4 separate regions of the Homo sapiens genome follow, and all the other regions are linked to region 1. Evidence: promoter capture Hi-C in 16 types of primary human blood cells and fetal thymus (Javierre and others, 2016). All regions are on one chromosome and are shown on one strand. The core of a region is centred on a gene start or on the middle of the fragment in contact, and the rest is flanking DNA. Distances in the headings are between cores, read along the strand shown. Region 1 holds the start of GNPTAB (N-acetylglucosamine-1-phosphate transferase subunits alpha and beta). Region 2 overlaps WASHC3 (WASH complex subunit 3). Region 3 overlaps MYBPC1 (myosin binding protein C1). Region 4 overlaps MYBPC1 (myosin binding protein C1).

Region 1 (7,333 bases), core at 2,282-4,781:
AATCCCACAAAAGCAGGGACCATGTCTTTCTTGGTACCCAAGTATTGGGGTACCTAAGTCATTACGAGATAGACTCAATGTCCAATAAAATGCCCAGCACAAAGCATTCATTCACAAATGCTGAATAAACACTAACCATTACTTAAACTTTTCTCATAGATTGAGCTCACCACTATATGCCATATTAGCCTACTGACTGTACTTGGAGGTACTGTTGCCTTCACTCTATCTCTCTGCTCTTACAGATATCTACATCATTGATGTGAAGATGATTACATTTTTGGAATTCATTTGACTTTTTTAAAAAATATTTTCTACATCATTTTTTTCTCTAGTTACTTCATGTTTGGGAGAAAGGCAGGAAAGGGACCTCTTTATTTATTTATTTATCTGCTATAGACTGAGAACCCAGATGACAGTTTCTCGGAATTATATTTATCAGATTTTGAGAGGGACTGTGGGGTTCTTCTAAAAGCAAAACTCAGGGGTTTCACTGGGTTCCTGGGAATCCTTTTTGATCTTTTGGCTTTTCTGGCTCTTTTAGGTTGCCAGATAAAATATTTCCAGATAAATGGGATGCTACTGCATATTTTTTCCACTGTTCAGATGTGGAGAGTTTAAAATCATTTCCAGGCCAGGTGAGGTGGCTCCCAGCATGTTGGGAGGCCAAAGTGGGAGGATTGCTTGAGCCCAGAAGTTCAACACCAGCCTGGGCAACATAGTGAGACCCTGTCTCTACAAAAAATTTAAAAAAATAATTTCCACAACTTATGCATTTACATACTACTAATGTTCTTGAAGTGCATATTTAATCAGTTAATTCTCCTGCTGAAAACCTCATTGCTTTCAGAACAAGGCTAAATGTTAATTTTCTTAAATTTTTCCAACACTAAAAATGTCGCAGGCACTTGAGCATTTTCATGTGTTATTTTACATAACCCTCCTAACTGTATAAGGTAGCTACTACAGGTATATCATATTGCACCCACATTTATTTTATTTAAGTTCAACCATACTGCCTGAGGAGGGGGAAAAGGGAGTGAACAAGAGCAAGTTCTCTAGAAGAAAGGACTTAGACAATGCTCCTGACCTCCCTTGAGGCTGTCTAGTTGGAGCCTAAAGATAAAGGAAAAATTTAAGGGTAATTCATACTACAACAAAGCATACTTTTTAAGAAGGACAGGTTCTAGGCAAGGCTAGGACTAAAGTGAGGACAGTGAAGCACTTGTCTTGGGTGGAAAATCCGAGGGAACTCCAAAAAACTCACTAATCAAGAGGAATAATATTTTAATGCTATATATATATATTTTTTTTTTTTTTTTTATTAGATGGAGTTTCACTCTTGTTGCCCAGGCTGGAGTGCAATGGCACGATCTCGGCTGACCGCAACCTCTGCCTCCCGGGTTCAAGTGATTCTCCTGCCTCAGCTTCCTGAGTAGCTGGGATTACAGGCATGTGCCACCATGCCCTGCTAATTTTGTATTTTTAGTAGAGATGGGGTTTCTCCATGTTGGTCAGGCTGGTCTCAGACTCCTGACCTCAGGTGATCCACTCGCCTCAGCCTCCCAAAGTGCTGGGATTATAGGCGTGAGCCACCGTGCCCAGCCTAATGCAATATTTTTAAAAAATCAAAATTAATGGTTGGGCGCAGTGGCTCATGCTTGTAATCCTAGCACTTTGGGAGGTCAAGGCAGGTGAATCACTTGAGGTCAGGAGTTCAAGACCAGCCTGACCAAGATGCTGAAACCCCATCTCTACTAAAAATGCAAAAATTAGCCGGGGGTGGTGGCATGTGCCTGTAATCCCAGCTACTCAGGAGGCTGAGTCAGGAGAATTGCTTGAAGCCAGGAGGCGGATGTTGCAGTGAGCTGAGATCACGCCACTGCAACCCAGCCTGGGCAACAGAGCAAGACTCTGTCTCAAAAAAAAAAAAAAAACCCAAAAAACAAAAAAAACAAAAAACATTACTGAAGAATATCCATGAAAAGCAAAACACCCAAACTTTATGTTTTATTTTACGTTTTAAATTTTTTTTTTATTTTAATAGGAACAGGGTCTGTTACCCAGGCTGGTCTCAAACTTCTGGGCTCCCAGACTCCTGGGCTCAAGCTATCCTCCCACATTGACCTCCCAAAGTATTGGGATTACATGCATGAGCCACCACACCCAGCCCCGATATCAAAACTATAAACAAAGACAGAATCTCACTCCAAACTTGCATGACTCATTTCACAGTACCTTCCCCTAATCTTGGCCCTGTTCTACAGCCTAAGTACCTGGTTCAAATCTCAATTCTGTCATTTACTATTTGTGTGATGTTAGATAGTTACTTTTTTTCATCACAGTTTCTTGATCTGTAGAATGGGGATAATAATGGTATCTCCATTATAAGATTATTGTGAGGATTAGATGAGCTGGGCACATGGCAGATGCTACATAAATGTTGGCCATTATCCTGAGAGTCCTGTTGAGTGGCAGATGTTTTTATATCTGTTACCATGCTTTTTTACCCCTTCTGATTAAGTCCTCAGATCTGTTATCATGCTTGAAAAGACCTCAGAACTATATGTGTCTTGTACAACTGCAATAATCTTTTGCCATGTACATATAGCATATATCAATCATCTTTTTTAAAAGAAGGATTAAAAGAAGTGACTGCAAAGTGTAAAAAATCTTGCCTTGGATTGGAGTGAAGCTAACCCCTTTTGCAAGTCTGTTAATTCCACCTGACCATCAAACTGAGGGTGCGAATTTGAGTATTTCCTGAAGCTGGTTCCCAAGATATTTTTAAAAATGCTTTGAATGATGGCAACATTAGATAAGTGTATTGTTTCCCAGGGTGACTAGGAAAAAAATCTTATTGACTAGGGTGCATTGGGATTAAGAAAAAGATCTCCCTTTCGTAAATCAGAGGCACCAAGGAAAGGATCTCGTGGGAAAAACCTGCTGTCAAAGTCGGATTACCTGGCCACCCCTGAGCTGGTTCCCCTCCAGTTCATCGCATGATTTCTATCATAACAACTCTTGTATTTAGTGGTTTACATGTTTATCTCCCCCACTAGACTCTCTGAGAACAGTAGCCAGGTCTAGTTCATTTTTGAATACCTGACACCAAGCACTATGCCACCTAACAGGCACAAATTACATATTTAACGACTAAATGAATGAACGAAATTCGGTTTTGGCAGATTTAACCCAAAGGTTTCCTCTTTCAAACAATATAGTTGGGGGTTGGAGGAAAGGAGCCACATACAGCATCTCCTTTTAGCACTCTGCAGAGAATGCTAAGTGCAGAGAAGGTTTTATGCACAAAAATATTCATGGCATTATAGTACCGTCTATGGCACAGTCTCGACGCAGGGGGCAGTTTTCTCTTGGTCGCCTGCCCAACCGGGTAAGTGGATCCCAGCTCAGCTCCGCCCCTCCCAGCCCAGCCCTCAGGGCCCGCTGCGCAAGCGCAGGTGGGGAGGGCGCGCACCTTCCCTATGCCCCTCCGTCCTCCAGGTGGCGCTGGAGACCCCGCCGCCGCCGCAGCCGCCTCTCGCCCGGCCAGACCCGGGCGGCGCCGGCCGCCTCGCCGGCCGCAGGTCCGCCTCCGCCGCGCCGAGGGCGTGGGCTCCCGGCTCCCGGAAGCGGCGGCCGCGGCGCGGAGCCGAGCGGGCGTCCGTCGCCGGAGCTGCAATGAGCGGCGCCCGGAGGCTGTGACCTGCGCGCGGCGGCCCGACCGGGGCCCCTGAATGGCGGCTCGCTGAGGCGGCGGCGGCGGCGGCGGCGGCTCAGGCTCCTCGGGGCGTGGCGTGGCGGTGAAGGGGTGATGCTGTTCAAGCTCCTGCAGAGACAGACCTATACCTGCCTGTCCCACAGGTATGGGCTCTACGTGTGCTTCTTGGGCGTCGTTGTCACCATCGTCTCCGCCTTCCAGTTCGGAGAGGTGAGTAGCGGCGCCGCAGCCTGGACCGGGCGCCTCGACCCTGCACTGCCCTCGCCGTGCCCCGCGATGCCCCGATACAGTATGTATTTTTTCATTATTAGAGACGGGGTTTTGCCATGTTGCCCAGGCTGGTCTCGAACTCCTGAGCTCAGGCGATCGCCCTGTCTCGGCGTCCCCGAGTGCTGGGATTACAGGCGTGAGCCACCGCTCCCGGCCAAATACAGTATTCTTTATCATAAACGTGTGCAGAGACTATGAGCAAGTCAGAACTGGAAAAAGGCATGTATGTGATTTTAGATATTGCTCCCTCGCCCACCGTTTTTTAAAAATAGAGACGGAGGTCTCCCTATGTTGCCCAGGTTGGTCTGGAAGTCCTGGGCTCAAGTGATCCTCCCTTCTTGGCTTTCTAAAGTGCTGGGGTTACAGGCATGAGCTACCGCACCTGGCCCAAGAAAGCCACTTTTAGCAACGGGGAGGAAAGCTGTATTTTTAAGTGGTTTGAAATCTGTTCCTTAGTTTTAGTTTTTTTCTTTTTCTTTTTTTTTTTTTTTTTTGGTAGGAGGTTACAAAAGGTTTTAAAATTTAACAGAGTAGTTTTTAGAAATGCCACAGTATACATTTGCTTGAAGTCTTTACCCATGCTGGATTGTAAGCTCCGTAAGAGAAGGTGCTGTCTGTAAATACTGTAACCCTGGCCCAAGCACAGTGCCAGGTACTGCCAGAGAATGCAGTGCAAGTGTTTGTTTAATGGCTAAATTATATGGCATGAATTCTGAGCATGTACTTTTTTAGTAGTTCTTGGTTCTAGAGGCTGGGAAAAAATGTCTTACCATAAGGGTGAGAAAGCTCCAGATTTGTAAGTGTGAAATATGTACTTAATATTATAGTACTTGCTCGTCTTTGTTTCATGTGTTGCAACTTAATGTATCTGTGTGTAGTTAGGTGCCTTATTGCTTTTGTGTGATTTTTTTGGCCTTGATTAATTTTGAGTTAACTGTTTATTAAGTCCCATGCAGTGTGAAGATGACTTAAAGGCATCAGGTGTTAGAATTCTTCATTTTATTTTATTTTTTTGAGACAGAGTCTTGCTCTGTTGCCCAGGCTGGAATGCAGTGGCTCCATCTCGGCTCATTGCAACCTCTACCTCTCAGGTTCAAGAAATTCTCCTACCTCAGCCTCCTGAGTAGCTGGGACTACAGGCGCGTACCACCATGCACAGCTAATTTTTGTATTTTTAGTAGAGATGGAGTTTCACTATGTTGGCCAGGCTGGTCTCAAACTTCTGACCTCAAGTGATCTGCCTGCCTTGGCCTCCCAAAGTGTTGGGATTACAGGTGTAAGCCACCGCACCTGGCCCGAATTTTTCATTTTATATCCTTTTCTTTTTGCTTTCATTCCATGCTTGGCTGTTTACCAAAAGAGAGACATTTTGTTGCAGTCCTGAAATGGCCACAGATCATAAGGTTTGGAACAGACAAGAGAAATGAGAGGCAGACAGTGCCAACAGGTGTCATGAGAGGTGAAGGCAGCTGGCCTGTGGTTAACTTGTAAGGCATAATGGAAAAGAGGAGCTGCATGATTAGGCAGATTTGGCCTTGATTGCTGACTCCAGTTGATAATGATCATAATAATAGCTAATACTTATATTGGTCTTAACAGGTATCAGGCACTCTCTTAATTGCTTTACATATGTTAACTGATTTAATCCTCACAACATCACCCCTGTGGGATAGGTGCTATTATTATAACCATTTTATAGGTGATGAAATGGATGCATTTGCATTAGAATCCAGCTAATTTGTGGCAGAGCTGGGCTTCAAACCAAGCCAGGCTGGCTCAGAGCTGTGCTTTTTTTTTTGTTTGTTTTTTGAGATGGAGTCTCACACTGTCACCCAAGCTGGAGTGCAATGGCGCAATCTCGGCTCACTGCAACCTCTGCCTCCTGGGTTCACGTGATTCTCATGTCTCGCCTCCTGGGTTCACGTGATTCTCATGTCTCAGCCTCCCAAGTAGCTGGGATTACAGGTGCGTGCCACCACACCTGGCTAATTTTTTGTATTTTTAGTAGAGATGGGGTTTCACTATGTTGGCCAGACTGGTCTCGAACTCCTGACCTCATGATTCGCTTGCTTTGGTCTCCCATGGGATTACAGGCGTGAGCCACCACGACCAGCCTAAGCTGTGCTCTTGAGCACCCCTTTTTATGGTTTCTCAAACAGCCCAGGCTGTTCCTTGTCTGATCTTGGGAAGGATATTTAACCTCTCTGAGCTTCCTTATCTTTGAAATGGAGGCCAGATTACCTTCCTTGCAGGGTTGATGAGGATTAAATAAGATGGGTATGTAAAGCACCTCACACAGTTCCTACTACATAACAGACCCTCATTAAATGGTCATGGCTACTGCTGCTATTATATTATCAACTCTTTTATGTCCTTAAACCTTATTTTGAAATATATCCTTGAATCAGAATACTTTGATCATATAGTTAATATTACCAACTTGTTAATAATCTCACTAATTGTAATGGATTGTAAGCTCACTAATTGTAAGTCCTTTTGGACTAAGAAGATCATTGTTTTTTTTGTTTTGTTTTGAGATAGAGTCTCACTCTTGCCCACGCTGGAGTGCAGTGGGGTGATCTCAGCTCACTGCAACCTCCACCTTCCAGGTTCAAGTAATTTTCCCTGCCCCACCCTCCGGAGTAGCTGGGATTATAGGCACCCGCCATCACGCTAGACTAAGTTTTTGTATTTTTAGTAGAGACAGGGTTTCACCATGTTGGCCAGGCTGGTCTCAAACTCTGGACCTTAGGTGATCCGCCTGCCTTGGCCTCCCAAAATGCTGGGATTATAGGTGCGAGCCACTGTGCCTGGCCCTCAGAAGATCATTGTTAACTGTAAATTTGTTATCGTCTCCTCCTCTCAATATAACAGGTATTTGATGCTGTATTTTGATAAGCCTTTTCTATATTCATCCAAACTTCGAGAAGTAGAATTGAGGGAAGGAAGTATCAAACAAAACAAGCTGGGTGAGGTGGCTCATGCCTGTAATCCCAGGACTTTGGGAGACTAAGGCTGGAGGATTGCTTGAAGTCAGGAGTTGGACAAGCCTGGGAAACAAAGGAGACCCTGTCTCTACAAAAAAAAATAAAAATAAAGGCTGGGCGTGGTGGCTCACACCTGTAATCCCAGCACTTTGGCAGGCCGAGGCAGGAGAATTGCTTGAGCTCAGGAGTTTGAGACCAGCCTGGGCAACATGGCGAAACCCTATCTCTGCAAAAAAAGTAGAGTAGTCCCAGTTGCTTGGGAGACTGGGGTGGGAGGATCACTTGAGCCCTGGTGGTTGAGGCTGCATGAGCCGTGATTGCACCACTGCACTTAAGCCTGGGTGACAGAGTGAAA
Region 2 (7,333 bases), core at 2,735-5,234, 200 kb before region 1:
CACATGCCTGTAATCCCAGCTACTCGGGAGGCTGAGGCAGGAGAATCGCTTGAACCCAGGAGGCGGAGGTTGCAATGAGCCAAGATCACGCATTGTACTCCAGCCTGGGCAACAAGAGTGAAACTCTGTCTCAAAAAAACAAAAAACAAAAAACAAAAAAAAAACTGAATAAAATAAATGACCCTTTAAATATTTACTTTTTATTCATATGTCTTATCACCTCACTAGGAATAAGAGCCAAGATCCTTCACAGGCCCAAGAAATCCTATACAGTTTAGCTCCCCTGTTACCTTTATGATCTCATATCCTCACTCACTCTTCTCCAGCTCTACTGGCCTCCTTTATGTCCCTTGAATAAATACATTGGCAGCCCCTGTCTCAGGGCCTTTGCTTCAGCTGTTCTGTCTGCCTGAAACACTTTTCCCCAGATATCTTCATGGTTTGCTCCCTCACTTCCTTCAAGTCTGTATTCAAAAATATTACCTTCTAAGTACAGCCTTCCTTGGCCACCCTATTTTAAATTGCAGTGTCCTCCTACCCAATTCCCTTTACGCCTTCTCTGCTGTATTTTTCTTCTTATCAACTTCCAGCATTCTACATATTTTATGTATTTACTCTCTCTCTTCCCTACAAAGTTATAAACTCCACAAGCAAAGGGGATTTTTTTGTGTACTACAGTATTCCTCATTCCTGCAATAATACCTTGTACATAGTCCTGTGAATGAAAATGCTTATAATTTGTCTATACTATTTCACCTTTTGATAGGTTTAGGTGATGGACTCCTTTTTCACACTAACTCAGTGGTTTGAGAAACTTCCAAAATATAAGTTCCTGGGCCCTACCCTACAAAATTAGAATCTCTAGAGTTGGTACTTGGTACATACAGCATATGTATTTTGGAAAAAAACTCCTGATTAAGAATTGCTTAAAAATATTTTTAAACTATATCTTAATATCATTTACATTTTTTAAATTTAAAAGCATTTAAGAAAATAAATAGTTGTTTTATTTTTAAAAAGCCTTAACTTTTTTCTAGCAGTACTTAGCACTTAACTCTAGCCCATCCTTTTTGCTTGATGTCACTGAGTATGATTAGGGGTTCAATTTCTTCTGCCTCAGACTGTTTCTGATTTAAGACAAATTTTTCTGTTGTTAGCCCTTTGTCTCCTTTCTGCCTTCGGTGAGGGTATATCTATTTCCTAAGCATTTTCAGCATTCTGGAAGGGCTGCTTCTTCCTGGCATCTCCTCCTTCAGGCACATGGACTTGACCTTCTTTTGCTCTGCTAAGTCATCAATCATTCTTCTATCTGCTCTTAATTTTTATGTAATTGGTTCATATATGCCTCTTAGTCATTAAAGTTGGAGGTCATATTCTGTTTCGAATTGTTTAGGGGTGATTTTCAAGAAGAAAGTGGGGAGCTACATCAAACTGCCATCCTAAAACTAGAAGTTCATCCAAGTTAAATTTAATTTTATTGTTTTTAGTTTATTGTGCCAACCTGCATCCCAGAACCTTATTACCCAACTTTTATTTCCTATTGCTCCCTGTCCTGAATTGGATTTTTTTTTTTTTTTTTTTTTGAGACGGAGTCTCTCTCTTGTCACCCAGGCTGGAGCAAAGGGGCACAGTCACGGCTCACTGCAACCTCTGCCTCCCAGATTCAAGCGATTCTCCTGCCTCAGCCTCCTGAGTAGCTGGGATTAAGGTGGTGCCCGCCACCACACCCAGCTAATTTGTGTACTTTTAGTAGAGACGGGGTTTCGCCCTGTTGGCCAGGCTGGTGTTGAACTCCTGACCTCAGGTGATCCACCTGCCTCAGCCTCCCAAAGTGCTGGGATTACAGGCGTGAGCCACCACACCCAGCCCTGAACTCCATTCTTTAATCAGACAAAACCACAAACCATTCCCTATATAAGCTCCATGCTTTTCCTTCTCTGAATCCAGATTCTCTTTCTCTTTATTATTGCATGTCCAAATTCTGTTATCTAACATGCTCCTACGATTGCGTCCACTAAATCATTCCAGATTCTAAACCCACCAACACACGTAAAGCTAGAAGTAATAGCTCCTTTTGTTGACCTATCCAATGACTTTACCGGTATTCTTCCTGGAGTTTGTCACTTAATACTCTGTTTTATGATTATCTGTACATATTTTTGTATCTCCAGTTGAAAATGGAACCATGAGAGGGAGAATGGTATCTTGATTAATCCGTGTATTCATTTTAACACCTTACCCATAAAGGTGCTCAATCAATATTTGTTAATGGACTCTATATGTAATCCTGCATATGATCTCTCCTTCTTCACTTTGTGCTACCTGGATATGTATAAATATGCTCTCATTTCTTCAAGTTATCAATTTAAAATATTTTTCAGGACTAAAACAAGAATAGACCCAGCAGAGGTCTTCCTCAAGGTTGACATGAATCTGCCAATCATTATTTTTTGGATTATGATTATTGAACCATCTATAAATTCACTCCTTCTTCTTCTGTTTTCTAAGCATATCATGAGTGACTGTCAAAATTTCCAACAACAGATGTAGGCTACACATTTGACAATGCCCAGGAATTTTCTTTCCTTGGCATAATCACTACCAGAATTCCTGTCCCTTCTTCATTATCATTTATTTTGGCCTTTGTGTTCAAACTTAGGCGCAAATAGTTGCATGTTTGCCTCATTGCTCCCTTTATTGAGGAATTAAATTTTCAGTGGGGCAACTTAGGAATTTATCAGGTATTCTAATATAGGCAAAATTAAGCTGCTAGTACCTGTAGATGGATAATATCCCCCGTCATGTCTGTATCTTTCTGCTTGTTTACAGTGTTTTAAGAAAGCCTTATCTAAATCTTCCATCCGGCTAGGTAGCTAAAAAGTATGCCCCATCTGATAAAATTTCTGCCTTCTTTTAGCCTCACTTAGGGGTTTCTTTATCTCATGTTCAAGAATTTCCATATATGTGTATATATTTTGATTTACGGTTATTGTCCTCTTTCTGCTGGGAAACATTGTAAGACATTTCTTTGAAATGCCAGTTCTCATACACAAGTTTCTTCCCATTAAGTGTTAGCAGTCCCCAAGATTTACTTATTTTGAAATTTCAGATTTGCTGTATTTACATACTCACACACACACACACACACACACACACACACACACTTTTTTTTAGGCTATTGGATTTGTTTGCTGTTTACATTTTCCTCCTAATAATTTCCTGGCAGTTATTCCACTGTTTTTTCCCTATTATATTATTGTTATTCGTAGGTCTAGTCTTAAAATTTTAACTGAGGATGTTTTAATCTTTTGATTTCAGCGTAAAGCTTCTTGAACATACCTGTGGGTATTATGTCAACATAATCTTTTGGTTCTTCCAAACCACTTAGCACTTTTCCAAGAGTACAGTCATTCTAATGTCATAAGTTATCACCTAAAATATTATTCTTCAGCAGTATCTGCATAGCTAGTTGTGTTTCCTATATCCATTCCATTACCAAATTATAACTTTTAACTGGAAGAGCAGATAACAGTACCACTTTGCTTTAGAAAATGCCTCAGAGAAGTGGAGTGAAGAACAATCACGAGAGACCTATTATAATTTGTACCATTGAACCATTCATTTTCTGTCATTGACATGGAAAGAATACAGATAGCTTTGTATCTCTATACCTCAGGATGGTGATATGCCTTCCTATTTTCTGTGTTTGTCTTCTAATCAGTTGTTCACTCTGAAAATGTGGTTCAATTCTTTGAGTATAACTGAGAACAAACAGGGTTCAGGGGGATATAGATAAAAAAGCAAATTTGACCACTGGCTATAAGGAGGAGCCTAACCCCAGCTAATTCTAGAGGGTGACTTCATTACAGACTACCTTATCATACTGAAAAGTGTTTCACTTTCCCAACAAGATTTTAGATATGTATTAAAATACCTAATTTTTCTCAACTTTAGGGGTGACTAACATTTGCTTACCCACCACTCAAAATTCAGTTTTAGTTCTTAATGCAGAGAAAGACCGATAACAACATAATTCTTTAAATGAGTTCTAATTTGTCCATTAGTATGACCTTGAGTAGTTTACCATCCATTGTACATATGACTACAGCTTATAGAAACAGTTTTAGAAGCCTACATGTCAGCTTTTAGGGAATTGTTTATATTAACACAAAGGAAGATGACATAGTCTCAAAAAAAAAAACTCTTTCTGAAAAAAAAAACTGTATTTATACCAACAATATCTAATCCTTTATACCAACAATATCTAATCCTAAGATCTTAAGAATAACCATCTCTATGCATTCAAAAGGGAATTAACAGTGCCACAAGGTCTTTCACCTTGTGAAAGGGAAATAATAGGATTTGTCTCTTTTCAGTTGCCTTTATATTCTTGTCATTTAAAAATATTAGTTACTGCCCCATAAGAAGAGTCTTAATACCTCTATTACAATTATACTGAGTTTCTTTTTCCAAAGTGTAATATACTTTCACTCAGTATCATCTTGATACATAGCTCCTCAACAATCTTTTAATCATTTCTCCTACTATTTTAATTATTGTTTAGAACGATTTTTGTCTTCTGTAATAGGATAGAATTGTGTTTTTCAAGACCTTTCAGCTTCTTCTGTAGCATAGAAAGCTTTAATTTGCAGACTTCTGATGTGATCATTCACTTCAGATATGAATGAAAGTCTTGCGGGTTACAAAAACAGATTTTTCCTGATTTTAAGACTTCCTGGATATCAGGATGAACTACAGACCCCTTTGGCTTCCTCTCTAAACTGCCATGAAAACTCCCTCTTCCTGGGTACTAACTATCGCCTGGAATGCCTTGCTTTTATATGTGCCTTGCTTCACTTGCCACATACCTGTAAATCTATTTTACAGTCTAGATAATGAAAACTATTTAATCAATATAAACTCCTTTGTACAAAAACCAACACAGTCCTTCACTAATCACAAGTACCAGTTGACAGAGTAATAAGTAATACCTTGTTTTTTGGTCTCCATGCCTTTTTCTGTCACTGCTGGATTACTACCCTCTGAGAGATAAAACAATGATTAGATTAAAACAATGAAAGAAAAGTTGTTCTTTCTCTGGGAGAAAATTTCATTGCCTAGGAATACACCCAGATCTTTTCCCAGTACTTCTGGAATACAACATGGTATAGTTTCTTAGCTTTGCCATCACATCAAGTCATGTCACCTCTCAAGACTTCAGTTCCCTCATACATAAAATGAGATCTGAAGTTCCTTTTAGATTTATGATCTATTAATTGATCCCCAAATTTGGATCTCATTACTAATGAATGTTCCTGGAACACCTGCTGGCATTTTCTGACTTTTTTTTCCTTTTTAACCAAGTTTTATACAAGATTTTTCAGTGAGTAATACTGTTGTGTTCCAAATGTGGCAGATAATTGATTTTGATTTAATGTTTGTCATAATAGTGCAGCACAAGCCTTTACTAAATTACATATTGCTTTTATAACTTAACTGGAATTGTGTACATAGATCACTTTTCCAACAATTCTCCCCTTTTTACTGGCAGATCATGGTGAATCCTCTGCCAGTAATAAATTGTGCATTGGGCAAGTCCGACTTCCACATTAAGAAGCTAATGACTTGTATTTTTTGAAACCATATTTGCCAAAACAGTCTCTTAGACACTTAGATTTTTTTAAAGCTCTATTTTCTTTGGCTGGCTTAAAATGTGAATTGAATAATCTCTTTGGTTCTGGTGGTTCTGATGCATCCATTGCCAGTGGTGGATGTTGGCCTGAGGAAATGTGACTTCCATTACCTAAGGATGAGGAGCTTCTAAATGATTATTAAAGATGTCCATCAAGAAGGTATGCACCTTGGACCTTGTGAAACCAGTCAAGCATGAAGTAGCATGTTCTTTAGATGACAAACAAGATACAGTTATTGTAAGAGTAATTAAAGTCTTTAAAACATTTTTTGGATATGACCCCAATGTGGCTTTCCATGGTTTAGAGAACTCCAGGTAGTTTCCTCATCAGTGATCAACAGTATAGTCAAAGTATAGTCAAAAAGGAGGAGCTACTGGTTCATACATAATCATAGCTGTGAAAAACACTGTTACAGATTTAGCTTAATAACGATGTGATTTCTTTTTTCATTGTTTTTTAACTATAGGTATAATATTAATATGTATTTCATTTCTTTTATAATACCTAAGGTTTACTAATCAATATCAAGATCAGTATTTTTTGAGTACATGAAGGTTTGTGGGATGGGGGAATAACTTTTGTGTTGTTTTAGCCTCATTCTGTTTATTGAAAAATAAAAGCTTCATGACCAATGACTTTGATTTGCCACACTTATGAATATAAAGAAAAGATACAAATGAACATTTATCTGTTTAATTAATTGTATAATTTAGCCAACTTTGAAAATTTTAAGTAAAAATATTTTATTCTTCCCATGAACTAAGTAAGTTAGGCAGGTCTGACTACAACTAAAAGAAAGAAGCAAAGCTTAGCAAAATAGTAAACTATATGAATAGTAACTTTGAGTTGGGATAATTGGGATTCAAGTGACCTCTGACATTTGTCCTCCTCCTTCTACTTTCTAGCTTATATCAAATGCATCAAGGTTTGGATAGAGTTTTCCCTTAAGCAGAAAACTGTGACAGCCACCAACTGGAAGCCCCTGCCATATTACCTATGCTTTGCCATGGCCCCAGTATACAGAGGACCTAGAGAAAGATAACTTTTGTCATACTTTTGACAAGAAATTTCAAAAATTACTCTCTGCTAAAGTCAGTGAACTGGCCTCTAAAGAAATCATGTGTGAAGAATGATTATGCCAGTTTTACAGATTAGGATTTTTCCATCATTTTAGCTGCCTTTTGAACCCTCCATGTTGCCTTGAAAGTTAGGGAGCTTAGAACCAGTCATACTGTGTACAGATTTAATGTTGAAACGACATTAAATCTGCCTATTATGTATTTGCCCTTTTGCATATTTTTAAATTTTCTTGTTATAAATGTTTGTTAGAGGGCAGTAAGCAATGATACTGCTAAAAGTTCAGGTTTTAAATTTCTTGCTTTTTCTGGTGTGTGATAAAGCTAGAAGAGTGAAGGAAGTACTGGCCATGTAGTGGGCAGATACTAAATAGTTATATGGTTGTCATGTCAGTACCTACTTGGTAATACTATATATGCCTCCCTCAATTCTCATCTATTTATTCTTCACTGATACCACTGTTGTCATAATCATATAGCTGAGAATATTTTAATACTAATATCACATTTTTTATTATAGCCATCCTTAGTGACATTTAATTGCTGTGAAAATGTTCATTTTTG
Region 3 (7,333 bases), core at 2,060-4,559, 200 kb after region 1:
CTGTTCTTTTTTCTTTCTTTTTTTCCTTTTTAATCAGAGCAAGGTGCTTAATAATCTACTGTATCACATTTTTGTTGATTGATTGTGTATGTGTTTGTGTGTTGTCTCCTTATGAATATAAACTATGTTAGAGAAAATGACACATTTCCTTAGAGGAAGTACATATTTATTTGCCACCTACTGTGAACCAAGCTTTTTACACTTAATTTAATTTGCACAATAATTCTATTAAGTAGTGTTTATTCTTCACATTTCCAGATGTGAAATCCAAGTCTCAGAGGGGTCAAATATTTGACCAAAGTCACATAATTAGTAAATGGTAGAGCTGAGACTCCAGTCCATGTTTTTACCACTATTTTTCCTCCCACAAAAGTGTATCTATCCTTTTCTATGTGCCAGGCACTGGATTTCTTTTCCTCACATCAGTAGCATTATATTCTACGCAAAGACAGTGTTTAGTATTTTCCTGACTGAGTAAATGATTGCAGGGAGAATACAAAGCTCTCTTGTCTTCCTAAAGTGTCAATTTGTGTTATAAACTGAAGCGCCAGCTTCCAAGGCAAATTCAGAGTGGTATCTTTAATATGGAGTCACAGGAAATGAGCTGACTCATAAAAGGGAAACTTGGGTTTGGGTCCTGGCCCTGCCTCTAACTCCTGTGTGACTTGGGATAAGTCACTTGTTGTCTCTGTACCTTGGTTTCTTATCTGTAGAATGAGGAAACGTGAGGCTCACTTAAGGGCACTTCATATACTATTGCTTTAAATGCATTTGGGGAATTAATCAATACTATTGAGACTAATGGTTATTTGAAGTAGTCTATTGATGGGCTAATAGCCCTCAGGAATTAATAAATCACACCCATTAATATTTCTGTTCTCAACCTACATGTTGAGGGATAGGGGTAAATTTTTCATTTACAGAGACTTCAATACAGCTATCTAACTAAACAGAGAATAAACACAATCCCAGTATATTTCAAGTGTTTGTAATTTGTTATGAAGCATATTTGTACTTGTAGTCTTTTAATAACCATAGAAAGCACTAAAAGTAATTTTAAAAGCCTGGAAAGTTAAATGAAAACTGATATTATATACAATTAATTTAAAATTATAGTTTTACTCTGTTTATTTACAAATTTGCTAGATAAAACATAATCTCAGAAAAAAAGTGTTTCTTTTTGTTGCTTCTGCACTATAGTAAATATCTAGATATCTATAACAGGCATATAATATAGTATATATATAGGGAATCCTAGTGAAGAGTATAGCAGTTATAGAAATATATATGGAGAGAAATCTTATAAAATGGTTATGTTCTAAGTATCCATAATGAAATCCTATAAATTTTATTGCAGGAGAGAACAATGAAAAGTGTCAGTGTGTGATGATACTAAACTTTTATTTCCATTTTGTCACTTCTAAAACACATTTTTGAGGCATTTTAAAGACCTCTGAAATGACAATGCATCTTATAATCAATGGTGTGTCAAACCATTTGGAACAATTTTTTCATTGCTTAGTGATTTATAAAGTGCTGGTGTATCTTAATAGCAGTGGTGTCTTAGACTTGCAGAAATACAGTACATCATAAATAATACATTAAAGTAGGTCTGCCTCTTACAATGTGTATACCTTCAGACTTCTACCAAATCATATGTGCAGTCTTAGAGGTTTCTAGGTATTTGTCTTATGTCTCAGTTTTCATATCTCTTCGTCCCCATTTAAAAAAAAATAGGTGAAGAGTCATGAAACATTTAAAAAGAAAGTTTAAAAGCAACTGTTAAAGGCTTTAAAAGATTAGTATGCAGTTGTTTCTCTCTTTCTAGTCAACTCTGTTATATTCTATAAGCAAAACACATTTTCAGAAATGAAAAATTCTCTGAAGAACATCCACTTTAAACTTGACTTCTCTGAGTGGGTGTCTGAAAGACTTCCAGGCCACAATGTCTCACTCCATCACTTTGTTCTCACCTACGTTTCAGGAGACCACTAAAGTCAAGTTCTCCTGCATCCTCTTGACCTTCTCCACTGTCGTTAACAAAAGAAAAGCAAATCTGGGTTTAATGCAGAGACATACACAACAATTTCCCCCAAACACTCTACATGTAACGTATATGCAATTTTGTGCCACACAAGGACTAAATCAACACAAACTATTTCTTTTCACACAAGTGACATGTTAAGTTTTTGGAGTATGTACTTGTGGAAAAGTAAACATATGAGGAGCTTGTGTTACGCTATGATTTCAGAAGACACATTTTTGTAGATTGCATATATAAAACTGCTTGGATTTGTGTTAAAACCAGGTAACACAAATGCACTTAAGCCAAGCAACACAAAGTACTTTGTTTTTGCAAGTTGGGGGCTGTAGAAACATACCTATGTAAAAAGCAAAGAACTTTTGCTGATCTCTGTTATTCATGTAAGACAGAGATTGGCTTGGAGGACGAAGTGTACCAATGTCAGATATATAAGTACAAAGCCTTATATTCAATGGTAACCTCTTTGTGTCCATGAACAGATGAATCAGATAATGTGATACTAACATGGCAAAAATAAAAAAGGAGCTAACACAGAAATTTTTAAAAGATGCATTCCTTTCTGTCTTAAAGGGTGATAATTATTCTAATTTTCTTATTAATATTTATACCTTCTTAAATATGTTTTAAAAAAATTTGTCTTGAATTGTTAATGAAACTTTTACTAGCAGTTTAAAAAAGTGCTTTCTTGTAGAGAAATGCATCTTAAATTAGGCATGCAGCCACCACTGTGATTTCATATAAACTCTAACCAGAAGCTACAGAGCTAACATTTAAATGGCACTACATAGTTACTTACATGTTTAATTTTTTAAGGAAGTTTTGTTTCCTGCTCTTTACAAATGTTAGTTATGGTTTCTAAGAAAAGAGTCTGTGGGTTTAAAAACAGTGTGTATAACATGTAAGTCATAAGAATTAAACTCAGTAATGTGTTTTCAAAATTTCTTCAGGTGTTTGCAGGCCTTTTGAAGTAAATACATTTCTGTTCTTTTAAAGCTCAAAACTTAGTAGATCATGTTTCCCTCTCCTAAGATATACTTGTATACAGTATGAGCATAGTTTTAGACCTGTGCATTTGCTGAGCATGGGATGAAGGGAAAGTGGAAGGAAAGTAATAAAATTTGAAAGTTATGACATTTTTTAAAATTAAAAAATACCTAATACCAGTAATATTAAATAACTTTTCAAAGTAATTAAAGTTTTGATTTATTTATAATATCAGAGGAAAATATGCCTCATTAACAGGCTAAATTATTGTTTTATAATAGTTTGGAGTGACTTTCCTTATTCAGCAAAACTGTATGTGGATTCTGTATGTGGATTCAGTCTTCGGAAGAACAAAACATTTGGTCTCATTAAAGAATTTATATTATGGAATAATTAAGTACAGAGAATAACATAATGACAGGAAGGGGCTGGTTATATTTCTCAGAGACCAAAAATCTTTTACATTTCTTCCTTGACCGCCCCCCCTCCATTTTTCAGCCTTGGTAATTGCAAAAATATATGAAATAGGTATCTAAATTTTGCCTTTCTGTAGTATTCTTAATGCCAGTTTCATTTAGGATAATCCAATATTATATGGCACTAACTTCAGTAAGTAGCTACTTGGTTGTGGTTTTCTTGGGCACATGGTTCAGTAGCTCCCTGAGTGATTTCTAGATGAAAGGCAATATAAATAAAAGTTTTCTGCCGTGACTTAACCAATGAAATGAGTCTCTTTGCGTATTTCTTTTGGCCATTTGGTGGAAAGTAATGCTTTAAGGAGGAAGCTACATATGAATAAATTGAAAGTGTCTTTCTAAGGCAACTGTGAAACCTCCAAAACAGGAACTTCTTTATAACAAGAACATTCTAAAAAATGGTCAGTATATGCTTGACTGGGCCTTAAACCCATGGTTTTTCTAGAACACCAATGTTTAAATATATGGTGTTTTTGCGGTGAAAAGTGTTGTTCGTATTTGGAATACGGAATACAGGGGAAAGGAAATGTGTTTGAAAATCCTCCACTTCTGTGTTATACAAAAGCTATCTAGATTTTTCTTTTGGAGTTACCTTCTCTTGAAAGCAGATCTGATGTCAATGTTTGGAGTAGTCCCAGTAGATTCTTTGAAAGGAAAGAAAACAATAACATAAATACCCATTAAGGAGGTAGTTTGTGTTCAGTTCCTTTATAGGCTGTGGGGATTCTTTAGATGGAAGAATGTCAGGTGAAGGGGGGAGGCTTTTCTCCTGAATGGCTGTGCTGCCAAGGCCTCATCATACCTCCTCCTCCCTCATGAAGAACCAATGAAGGGACCTTGGGGTCACCTTGTTCAGGTGTCATTCAACTTGTCTGCCCACTAGAATCACTGAGGGACTTAGAAATATATCAGTTTCTTGATCCTCTCTGCCAAAGATGTTGATCCACCAGATCAGGGAGGGGCACCCAGAAATCAATATTCTTAAATAGCCCTCCAGGGGCCGGGCGCGGTGGCTCACGCCTGTAATCCCAGCACTTTGGGAGGCCGAGGCGGGCGGATCACGAGATCAGGAGATCGCGACCAGCCTGGCTAACACGGTGAAACCCCGTCTCTACTAAAAATACAAGAACAAAATTAGCCGGCCGTGGTGGCGGGCGCCTGTAGTCCCAGCTACTCGGGAGGCTGAGGCAGGAGAATGGCGTGAACCCGGGAGGCGGAGCTCGCAGTGAGCCGAGATCGCGCCACTGCACTCCAGCCTGGGTGACAGAGAGGAGCGAGACTCCGTCTAAAAAAAAAAAAAAAGCCCTCCAGGTGATCTTCTCAGAGATGCCCAGCCAGGTTGAAGCAGTGCTGCCCAGGATCCCAGATCCCACCTAATACAGAAATATCGACAGCACCCGACCCATGGCCATCCAGCCTCTGCTTGACATCACTCTCAGTGGGACTCTCACAACCTTCCTGGGCTGTCTATATAGCTTTAACCGAAGAGCTCGTCCTTTTTTTTTTTTGTTGAGACGGAGTCTCACTCTGTTGCCCAGGCTGGAGTGCAATGGCGCGGTCTTGTCTCACTGCAACCTCCGCCTCCCCGGTTCAAGCGATTCTCCTGCCTCAGCCTCCCAAGCAGCTGGGATTATAGGTGCCCACCACCACGCCTGGCTAATTTTTGTATTTCTAGTAGAGACGGGGTTTCACCATGTTGGCCAGGCTGGTCTCGGACTGCTGTCCTCGTGATCTGCCCGCCCCGGCCTCCCAAAGTGCTAGGGTTACAGGCGTGAACCACCGTGCCTGGCCAGCTCATCCTAACGTTAAGACAAAATTCACCTCCTCATCATTTCCACCTTTTGATTCTAAACTGCCTAAATGCTTCTCATGCATGGAAATTTGTTTTCCATTTTCTGTGTGACAGCCCCTTCCCCTCTTTGCAACAAGCCATGTATGCCTGACTTCCTTCACCCACACACTCAAGCTGGATAGGGTGTGGTTTTTGGATTCTTCATCTTCCTGGTTACTCTACTCGAGAAGAGGTCCAGGCAGAGGTATAGTGACCACGGCTAAAGACATCACTCCAAATGTAGAATAAGTAGCATGTTGTAGAGAGAAGTATCACTTCCTAAACTTAGATCCTATAGCACTTGGAATAGCCCAGTTTAAAATTACATTCATGGCCGGGCACAGTGGCTCACACCTGTAATCCCAGCCCTTTGGGAGGCCAAGGCAGGTGGATCACTTGAGGCCTGGAGTTTGAGACTAGGCTGGCTAATATGGCGAAATCCCGTCTCTTCTAAAAATACCCCAGCAAAATTAGCCAGGTGTGGTGGCACACGCCTGTAATCCCAGCTATTTGGGAGGCTGAGGCATGAGAACTGCTTGAACCCAGGAGTTGGAAGTTGTGGTGAACCAAGACAGTGCCACTAGATTCTAGCCTGGGCAACAGAGTGAGACTCTGTCTCAAATAAAATAAAATTACATTCACTTTTTTGTCTTTTGCAACTACATCACACTTTACATTCACCTTAAGTTTATAATATTTGCTGCCAAGTCAACTTTTCCTTTGTATACTTGTAAAAGCGAGTTTTTTTCCAACCTCATCGTATGCATTTAGGCCTTCTATGTTTACTCTGGGTAGTGCACAGAACATATGGATGAAGAACTGCCATGCCTGACATTAGTCGTTATAAGAGAAATTCTCCCTTCCATCTGGGTATCCTGAACTCTCATAGCATATTACCCTATCCCCAAACCTAAGTGGGAAAGTGGACCCCTTGAAACATACATTCTGTAGCAGCAAAAACTGACATCATCTTTTATCTGGGAGATTGAAAGAATATAGATAGCATGGACAAGAGATATTTAGCGATAAAATCCCCCCAATTCTACTTTTATTATAAATTATTTCATTACAATTCAATTCAGCAAGCTTGCTGAGACTACCACAATCAGAAACAGTTTTAAAGGAAAACTTTCTCTGAAATCTCATAGTATTAAATGAACTACTTCTTCTCCATCCCCTCACACCCCATTAAAAAATTACATTTATCTAGGCAAGAAGGCTCTCTTACCGTGCACTTCAAGATCAAATGAACAGCTGTCAAACTTATCCTTATAGGTGACCTCGCATCTGTAATTTCCTGCAAAGTTATCTTTGGCCTTGATGATCTGCATCTCAAATGTGTACACCTGCAATGAAATGCATCCAGACACACACATTTCAGTTTATTTTCCAAATTTCTCAGCATTGGCTTAAAGCTGTGTCTGTCTGTGGGAATTCCAGTACAATGTTCTCACTATAGGAGGGCAAATGTGTCCTGTAGCCCCCGGACACAGCCGGGCAATCGCAATAGAGTGTAGACACTGCAATGGTAACTTCAGAGGATTTTCTGGAACTGAAGTCTCTCAAAGCTGAACCTGAAAATAATCATTTATTCACATAGAAGGAATGCGCTAGCTGAGCGCCTGTCCTGGGAGTTCAGGGCCTTACCCGACTGTGCCTCTCAAAGGTTTCCTTCAGCTGAAGGTGCTTCCCGGCTTTGCTGGCCAGGTCCATCCATTTTCCTTTGAACCATTTGATAGTGGGTTTTCTCAGAAGATCTTCAGCCTTGACTTTGGCTATGAAGGTGATATCTTCACCTAGAAGAAGCATAAGGGATTCAGCTTGCTCTTTAACAAGCGTCATTTGTTTTGCTTTCAACTGGAAGGAGTTGACATGGGACTGCACTACAGAATATGGTGTGATTGGTGCCCTCGGAATTGTGAAATGAATTCGTCCTGATTTTTTTATGAATGCTCTAGAGGTCCTTAGGCTGTCCCAGCTTGTTCTGCTGTGGGGGTT
Region 4 (7,333 bases), core at 2,238-4,737, 180 kb after region 1:
TCTAACACGTAAACTTTGATTACTGGTTTTAGGTCTTTCTTATTTTTAAATATATGCAATCATTGCCATTAATTTCCCTTTAAGCACTGCTTTTGCTGCAACTTAAACATTTTGATATGTTGTATTTTCATTTAATTCAATATATTTTAAATTTTCTTTTAAGATTTCATCTTTGAAGTGTGTTGTTTAATCTTCAGGAATTTGAGGGATTTTCAGCTATTTTTCTGTTATGTATTGATTTTTAGTTTCACTTCTGTAATTTATTTATTTTTAGTTTAATTCCATTGTCCCTGAGAGCAGATATTATATGACTTCTATTTTTAAAAATTTGTTAAGGTGTTTTTATGGCCTAGAATGTGTTCTATTTTGGTGAATATGCTATGTGTGCTTGAAAAGAATGTGTAATCTGCTGCTATTGGATGAAGTAATCTATAGATGTTATTTATATACAATTGATTGATAGTGCTGTTGAGTTCAGCTGTGTCCTTACTGATTTTCTGTCTGCTGAATCTGCCCATTTCTGATAGAGGGATGTCAAAATCTCCAACTATAATAGTGAATGCATCTATTTTTCATTGCCGTTCTATCAGTTTTTGTCTCATATATTTTGAGGCTCTGTTGTTAGGTGTATACATGTTAAGGATTATTAGGCTTTCTTGGAGTATTGACCCATTCATCATTATGTAACGCTCATTTCTATTCCAGATAAATTTCTTCGCTTTGTAGTCTGCATTGTCTGAAGCTAATATGGTTACTCATACTTTCTTTTGTTTAGTCTTAGCACAGCATGTCTCTCTCTCTCCCTATACTTTAATGGATGCAACTTTATATTTAAACTGGGTTTCTTATAGTCAACATATCTTTGGGTCATGTTTTTGCTCTACTCTGACAATTTTGGGCTTCTAATTTGTATATTTGGACCATTGACATTTAAAGTAAATATTGGTATAGCTCGATCAATATCTGTCATATTTGTTATTATTTTCTATTGGTTGCCCTTCTTCTTTGTTCCTATTATTGTCTTCTACATTTTTTTCTGCCTTTTGTGGTTTTAATTAAGCATTCTATGTGATTTCATTTTCTCTCCTTTATTAGCATATTAATTTTACTTCCTCTTTTTTAAACTTTTTAAAGTGGTTTCCCTAGTTTACAATATATATTTACAATTAACCCAACTCCACTTTCAAACAACACTACAGTGGTTCACAAGTAGTGCATGTACTTTAAAATAATGAAATGTCCCTAATTCCTTTCTCCCATTTTTTGTATTATTGCTGTCATTCATTTCACTTATATATAAAATACATAAATATAACTATATAAGCATACCTAATTGAATACATTGTTGCTTTTATCATTTTGAACAAAGTATTATTTGTTAGATCAACTGAGAATAGGAAAAAATGAAAAAGTTTATTTTACCTTCACTTATTCTTTATTTTATACTCTTTCTTTCTTTATGTAGATCTGAGTTTCTGACCTATATTATTTTCCTTTTTCTGAAGAACAACTTTTAATATTTTTTTGCAAGACAGATCCATTGGCAACAAATTCCCTAAAGTTTTGTTTGTCTGAGAAAGTCTTTATTTCTCCTTCACTTTTGAAAGATAATTTCAGAGGGTACAGAATTCTAGGTTGGTGGGTTTTCACCCTGAACACTTTCAATGTGTCACTCCACTCTCACATTTTGGCAGTTTGCCCTGTATCCTCACTTCTCTGACATATGTAAGAGGAGTTGCTAGTTTTTCCGTTTGTCCAGCTTTTTACTTGTTAGGATAGAGTGGCAACTTCTAAGCTGATTACATGCCCGAATGAAAATTTGAAGTCTAACTGATTCTTTAAATTTTTTTGGACTTTTTCTCTTGTGTTTCATTTTGGATCATTTCTATTGCTATGTCTTCAAATTTGCCTTCAATGTCTAATTAGCTATTAATTCCATCTACATATTTTTTATCTGAGACATTTTATTGCTTTCATCTGTAGGTGATTAGATTTGGATCTTTTTATATTTTCCATTTCAGTTCACTTTTTTCACTTAACTTTCTCTTAATTTTTATTTTATTTTATTAAATTTCTCTTAAATTTAATTTAAATGGAGAGCTTAACATTTCTCCACCTAACTTTTTGAACATATGGAATACACTTAAAATAACTATTTTCATATGCTCGACTGCTATTCTAATTTACATGTGAGATCTGAATTGGCTGTAACTGACTTTTCTCCTCATTTTGAGCTGTGTTTTCCTGCTTATTTCTCTACCATAATGTTTGACTGGATGGCAGGATATTGCTAATTTTGTCATGTTGGGTGCTTGATATTTTTGTATTCCTATATAAATCTTGAGCTTTGTTTTGAAATGCAATTAAATTATTTGGAAATTGATTGAATCTTTTAGACTTGTTTTTATGACTTATTAGGTGGGTCCATGACAGTGCTCAGTCTAGGGTTAATTATTCCTGCAACCAAGGCAAGGCTTTCCTGAGTACTCTACTCAATGCACTGTGAATGATGAGGTTTTCATGTCTAGCTAGGGGGAACAGGCACTACTATTGGCCTTGTGTGAGTGCCAGTCCACTTCTCTTTAATCCTTTCATATGTTCCTTTCTTGAATCTTGGGTAGTTTCCTCATAAATGTGCACTGATCTTTGCTGAATACTTGAGCGTGTTCCTCTGCAGAGCTCCAGGGGGACTCTCTGTGCAGCTCTCTCCTCCAGTATGTATAGTATGTATCCTATGAACTCTAGCTGCCTTGGTCTCCTTGTACAATGGGAGTCCTAAACTTAGGGAGTCCACTGGGTTCTGTCCAGGTTTTTCTTCCTTGTGCCACTGCCTGGATACTCTTTTATGGCAATAAGCTTGAGGCAATTATAGGGCTTATTTCATTTGTTTATCATATTTCATAGTCATTGTCTTTCACGATCTGATGTCCAATGTCTTGAAACCCATTGTTCACATATTTTGTCTATTTTGGGGGTTATTTCAAGTGAGTAGGTAAATCTGGTTCCTGTTATTCAATTCTGGTTGAAAGTAGAAGTCTCATTCTGCTTTTTATTATTTAATTTTATTTTTAACATTAAAAAAATTTGTTTTGAGATAGAGTCTCACTCTGTCACCCAGCTGGAGTGCAGTGGCGTGATCTCGGCTCACTGCAACCTCTGCCTCCCGGGTTCCAGCAATTCTTGTGCCTCAGCCTCCTGAGTAGCTGGAATTAGAGGCATGCTGCCACCATATTTGGCTAATTTTTTTGTATTTTTAGTAGAGATGGGGTTTCTCCATGCAGGCTCAGGCTGGTCTGGAACTCCTGGCTTCAGGTGTTCTGCCTGCCCCAGCTCCCAAAGTGCTGGGATTACAGGCATGAGCCACCATGCCCAGCCTCATGTCTTCTTTTTAAATGTAATTTTTCTTTTTTTGCTTTTATTTTTGTAGAAAGCCACGGAGTCACACTTGAGCTGGCACTACTCTACCATTTCACCCTCACTTGCATTTCTCCCAATCATTCACTTTGCCCCAGCCATGCTGGCTTTCCTTCTGTTCCTCCAACACATCAGGCTTATTCTCTCCCCTTGGCCTTTGCACTTGTAATTGCCTCCGTATGGAAATGTCTTCCGTTTGATCTTCACATAATGGGTTCCTTGTTCTTCACAGAGGCTGCCATTGACTATGCAGTTACTTGCTATTGTATCATTCTCTTTTATTATCTTCTTGTACTTATTACTATCCAAAGTGACTTTGTTCATTTATTTATTTAATAATTCATTTTCTTTTTCATCCCCCCAATTTCATTAGAATAAAAATGAGGCTTTTTCACTGTGCATCAAAACATGCTTTGCTACATAATAGTCAGAAATATGAGAAGTAAATTAATGATGATCAGATTTGCCTGAAAATCAGTCATCTTTCTTTTTCAAAGGAATTACATCTTTACTGTACTGCTGTACATTTATTTGTTTTCTACCTTCATCTGAATAATGGAGGGCAAGGGGTGGGGTAGGCAGTGTGTCTGCATATGTGTGTGTGCATGTGAGTGTGTGCAAGCATAAAACAAACCTTATCTCCCCGGCTCCACATGGCTTTAGGAGGTGGTTCTCCGCTGATGGGGATCTCAAGACGAAGCTTGTTTCCTGCAATCACTGTCACTGTGTTGTCAGCATCAAGACCATCCAGGATGATCTTAGGAGGATCTAGAATATTAAGCATAGTCTTTGTTATCAGACAGTCATTTCTGTGTAAATATCTGCACTAATGTTTGGCTAGTATGATGGTAGTAACCAATATTTTATCTAATCAAAAAGAATATAAGAGGAGTCAAGATAGTTGGTGCCTGGCACCTTGCAAAACCATTTTATTGTAAGGTGTTGGTATAAGTCACCAATCTTTCTGATTGGTGATTAATACCAATTGATGTATTTTTCCTTAAATGTCACTTAGTTTTGAATATATTATAATTCCATGGTAAGCAAAAGCAAACAAAAAAGAACACAACTATGCAATGAATTATTTTATCTACTCACCAATAACATGAACTTTGGCAGGCAGAGTAACATTGTAGGCATCAGGTGCAAATACATAATCACCTTCATCTTCAGTGAGGGCATTGGCTATCACTAACTTGTGGATCCTAAGGAAACAAGGAAAATGTATTTCTAAGACTCCAAAGATCTAGTTTATATATGACCCAAGCTGAAAAGACACTTGACCTTTATCTGATTAACTTCTTTAGTGCAGGAAAGAGAGGGAGAGAGAGAGAGAAAGAGAGAGAGAGAGAGAGAGGATGAGAAGCCTTAATTATCCTACTTATTGATTCAAATTAAATCTTTATTTTGGACTATATGGAATTATCTCCACAAATAGAATCTGCTTATTGTATATGCAGAGTCTATTATTCTTTTTTTTCATCTCATAGCTTTAAAAAGGCTAAAATAGAACATATCAATAATGCTATACTTTAAGATTCAAGAGATGCCAAGAATAATCTTGATTTTGGCTTTACATCCCAAACCCTAAGAACAATAGCTCTTAACTTTATTGGGGTCACAAACTAGTGAATATCTGATGGACACTATGAATCCTTTCTGTGTAAACAGTATGTATTTTTGTACACATAGAATTTTCTCACAATTTCACAGGAGTTATGGGGCTTCCTAAAGTTCATTTATGATACCCTAAAAGCCCATGAATTCAAAGTTAAACTCTTGCCTTAGATCTTTGCCAGATTCTAGGATATTATGTCCCCTACGCAAATAAAGATTTGTGGGAAGGCATTGTGACACTTATTGGTTAGAGACGGTTAATCCATTTGATCAGGTCCTCAATTAGAATTCAGTATTTTTCCTCTAACTTCATGTTTATTATTTATTTTAGAGACAAGGTCTCTCATTCTGTTTCCCAGGCTGAAATGCAGTGGTGTGATCTCAGCTCACTTCAACCTCCCCCTACTGGGTTCAAGCCATCCTCCCACCTCCCAAGTAGTTGGGATTACAGGTGCATGCCACCACGCCTGGCTAATTTTTGTGTTTTTTGTAGAGATGAGGTTTTGCCATGTAGCCCAGGAGCTCTTGAACTCCTGAGCTCAATTGATCCGTCTGCCTTGGCGTCCCAAAGTGTTGGGATTACAGGCATGAGCCATGGTGCCTGGCCTCTAACTTCATGTTTAAATGGAAAAAGAGTCAATGGATTTTGAATAGACAAAGTACCATAGTGTGAGGTACAGATACAGGATTATGAGTAGGACATGCTATACAACAGAGAAATCACACCTTCTTGCTAGTTGGAAGCGAAGAATCAGGAATAGATGATCTCCCTATGGCTACCCTTCAAATATCCTCACCAAATATGTAATTTAGAAAATGGAGAAAGTAGAAATGGGACCAAACCTCACTTGCGGGTCACCTGGCTCGCTTACCTTCCCTTGTGAACCACCTTTAGACGGTCACTCTCCTGAACAGGTAGGCCATTTTTAGTCCATTTTCCTGGTATGTTTTCAGAGATTTCACACTTCAGGCAGATTTCTTTTCCAAGATTTACAGTCTGATCAGTCAGAGGTGTCAAAATCTTCAGAGGTTTCACTGTAGAAATGATAGACCATCACAAATGCCAAGCCCAAACTCCCAACAGGCCAAGATGGTGGCATTTCACAATGGTATAGTGAGCTCTACTACAATGTTTGTTTTGAAAGTGAGAAGCTGTACCAATGCAATTAATATATTAGAGGATAATTTCACATTTGATTCTGTACAATTTCATTCCTTAGAAAAACTAGGTGAATGCAGAAAATTGCATCCAGCTGAAATGACCCAGCAAGGAATGCACAAAATCTGCAGACTCACACCTCAAACATCTATCAGCTACCTCAGTTCATCCATGTGATATAAGCCACACCCATTTACATCTGAGGTCACAACTACTCATCAGATTTTGAATAATCCTCTTTCTACTGCTTCACAACAGTTCACAAGCCACAACACTTCCAGCATTAATTCTGTAAGCAAATCTCAGGTCTTTTTCAACATTAAGTGCCATATTTATTATATTTATTAACCATTTAGCATGTGTAAAACTGTGCTACTACTTTTTACTGGGTTCTTATATTTTAAAAAATATGTCGCTGACTGATGTGGTTTGGCTGTGCCCTCACCTAAATCTCATCTTGAATTGTAGTTCCTATAATCCTCACATGTCATGGGAGGGACGTGGTGGGAGGTAATTGAATCATGGGGGCGGTTACCCCCCTGCTGCTGTTCTCATGATAGTGACTGAGTTCTCATGAGATCTGACAGTTTTATAAGGGACTTTTGCCATTTTGCTTGGTACTTCTCCTTGCTGCCACCATGTGAAGAAGGACATATTTGCTTTCCCTTCTGCCATGATTGTAAGTTTCCTGAGGTCTCCCCAGCCATGCGGAACTGTGAGTCAACTGAAGCTTTTTCCTTTATAGATTACCCAGTCTTGGGTATGTCTTTATTAGCAGCATGAGAACGGACTAATAAACCAGCAAAATTCTTGAGTGTCATACCCATAATCCCATTTCCCCTACAAACCCTATGGTTTTTACTGCATGACTTTGCATAGCATAATTATTTTTAGAAATGCACATGTTACATCATAGCAGAATGGATTATAATTGCTTTAAATGGATACAAATATCAGATAAGGATCTGTCTATGGCTGAAAGACTTCTTGATGTTAAACTAAAATGGCCACAGATCCATAAAGCATAAGGAATGTATTGGGATTGATCCTGAATAATTCAATGATTATATGAACTGCAACTGGACTAAGCAATAAATGTGGAAGTAAGATTTCTGCTCTTTTTGTGACATCATCTTGAGATAT

Evidence for each region. The method cuts DNA at HindIII sites, captures the fragments that hold promoters and counts their contacts. A CHiCAGO score of 5 or more calls a contact.
Region 2: a fragment that was not itself captured here is called in contact with the fragment with the promoter of GNPTAB in region 1 in 1 of 17 cell types (neutrophils); the score reaches 5.7 in neutrophils.
Region 3: a contact is called between a fragment that was not itself captured here and the fragment with the promoter of GNPTAB in region 1, in 1 of 17 cell types (neutrophils). The highest score is 5.7, in neutrophils.
Region 4: a fragment that was not itself captured here is called in contact with the fragment with the promoter of GNPTAB in region 1 in 1 of 17 cell types (neutrophils); the score reaches 6.6 in neutrophils.

What each region holds. Positions count from the first base shown.
Region 1 is chr12:101,827,157-101,834,489 of GRCh38, reverse strand. GNPTAB (N-acetylglucosamine-1-phosphate transferase subunits alpha and beta) reads left to right here and starts at 3,531. Exons shown (of 21, transcript NM_024312.5): 1 at 3,531-3,931. The coding sequence starts at 3,815. RefSeq lists silencers at 3,349-3,748, 4,105-4,399. The HindIII fragment of the contact is 15,537 bases long and covers 1-7,333 here.
Region 2 is chr12:102,030,613-102,037,945 of GRCh38, reverse strand. All of the region lies in intron 5 of WASHC3 (WASH complex subunit 3), which reads left to right. Among named protein-coding and RNA genes, the nearest start is that of WASHC3, 28 kb to the left of the region's middle. The HindIII fragment of the contact is 1,314 bases long and covers 3,328-4,641 here.
Region 3 is chr12:101,631,369-101,638,701 of GRCh38, reverse strand. MYBPC1 (myosin binding protein C1) reads right to left here. Exons shown (of 32, transcript NM_002465.4): 7 at 6,983-7,131; 8 at 6,564-6,681; 9 at 4,097-4,148; 10 at 1,974-2,030. Among named protein-coding and RNA genes, the nearest start is that of MYBPC1, 40 kb to the right of the region's middle. RefSeq lists a silencer at 3,641-3,730. The HindIII fragment of the contact is 6,229 bases long and covers 195-6,423 here.
Region 4 is chr12:101,649,964-101,657,296 of GRCh38, reverse strand. It overlaps MYBPC1 (myosin binding protein C1), which reads right to left. Exons shown (of 32, transcript NM_002465.4): 16 at 5,904-6,066; 17 at 4,513-4,619; 18 at 4,049-4,182. It overlaps LOC105369937 (a long non-coding RNA gene), which reads left to right and starts at 6,426. Exons shown (of 2, transcript NR_188371.1): 1 at 6,426-6,481. The HindIII fragment of the contact is 1,258 bases long and covers 2,859-4,116 here.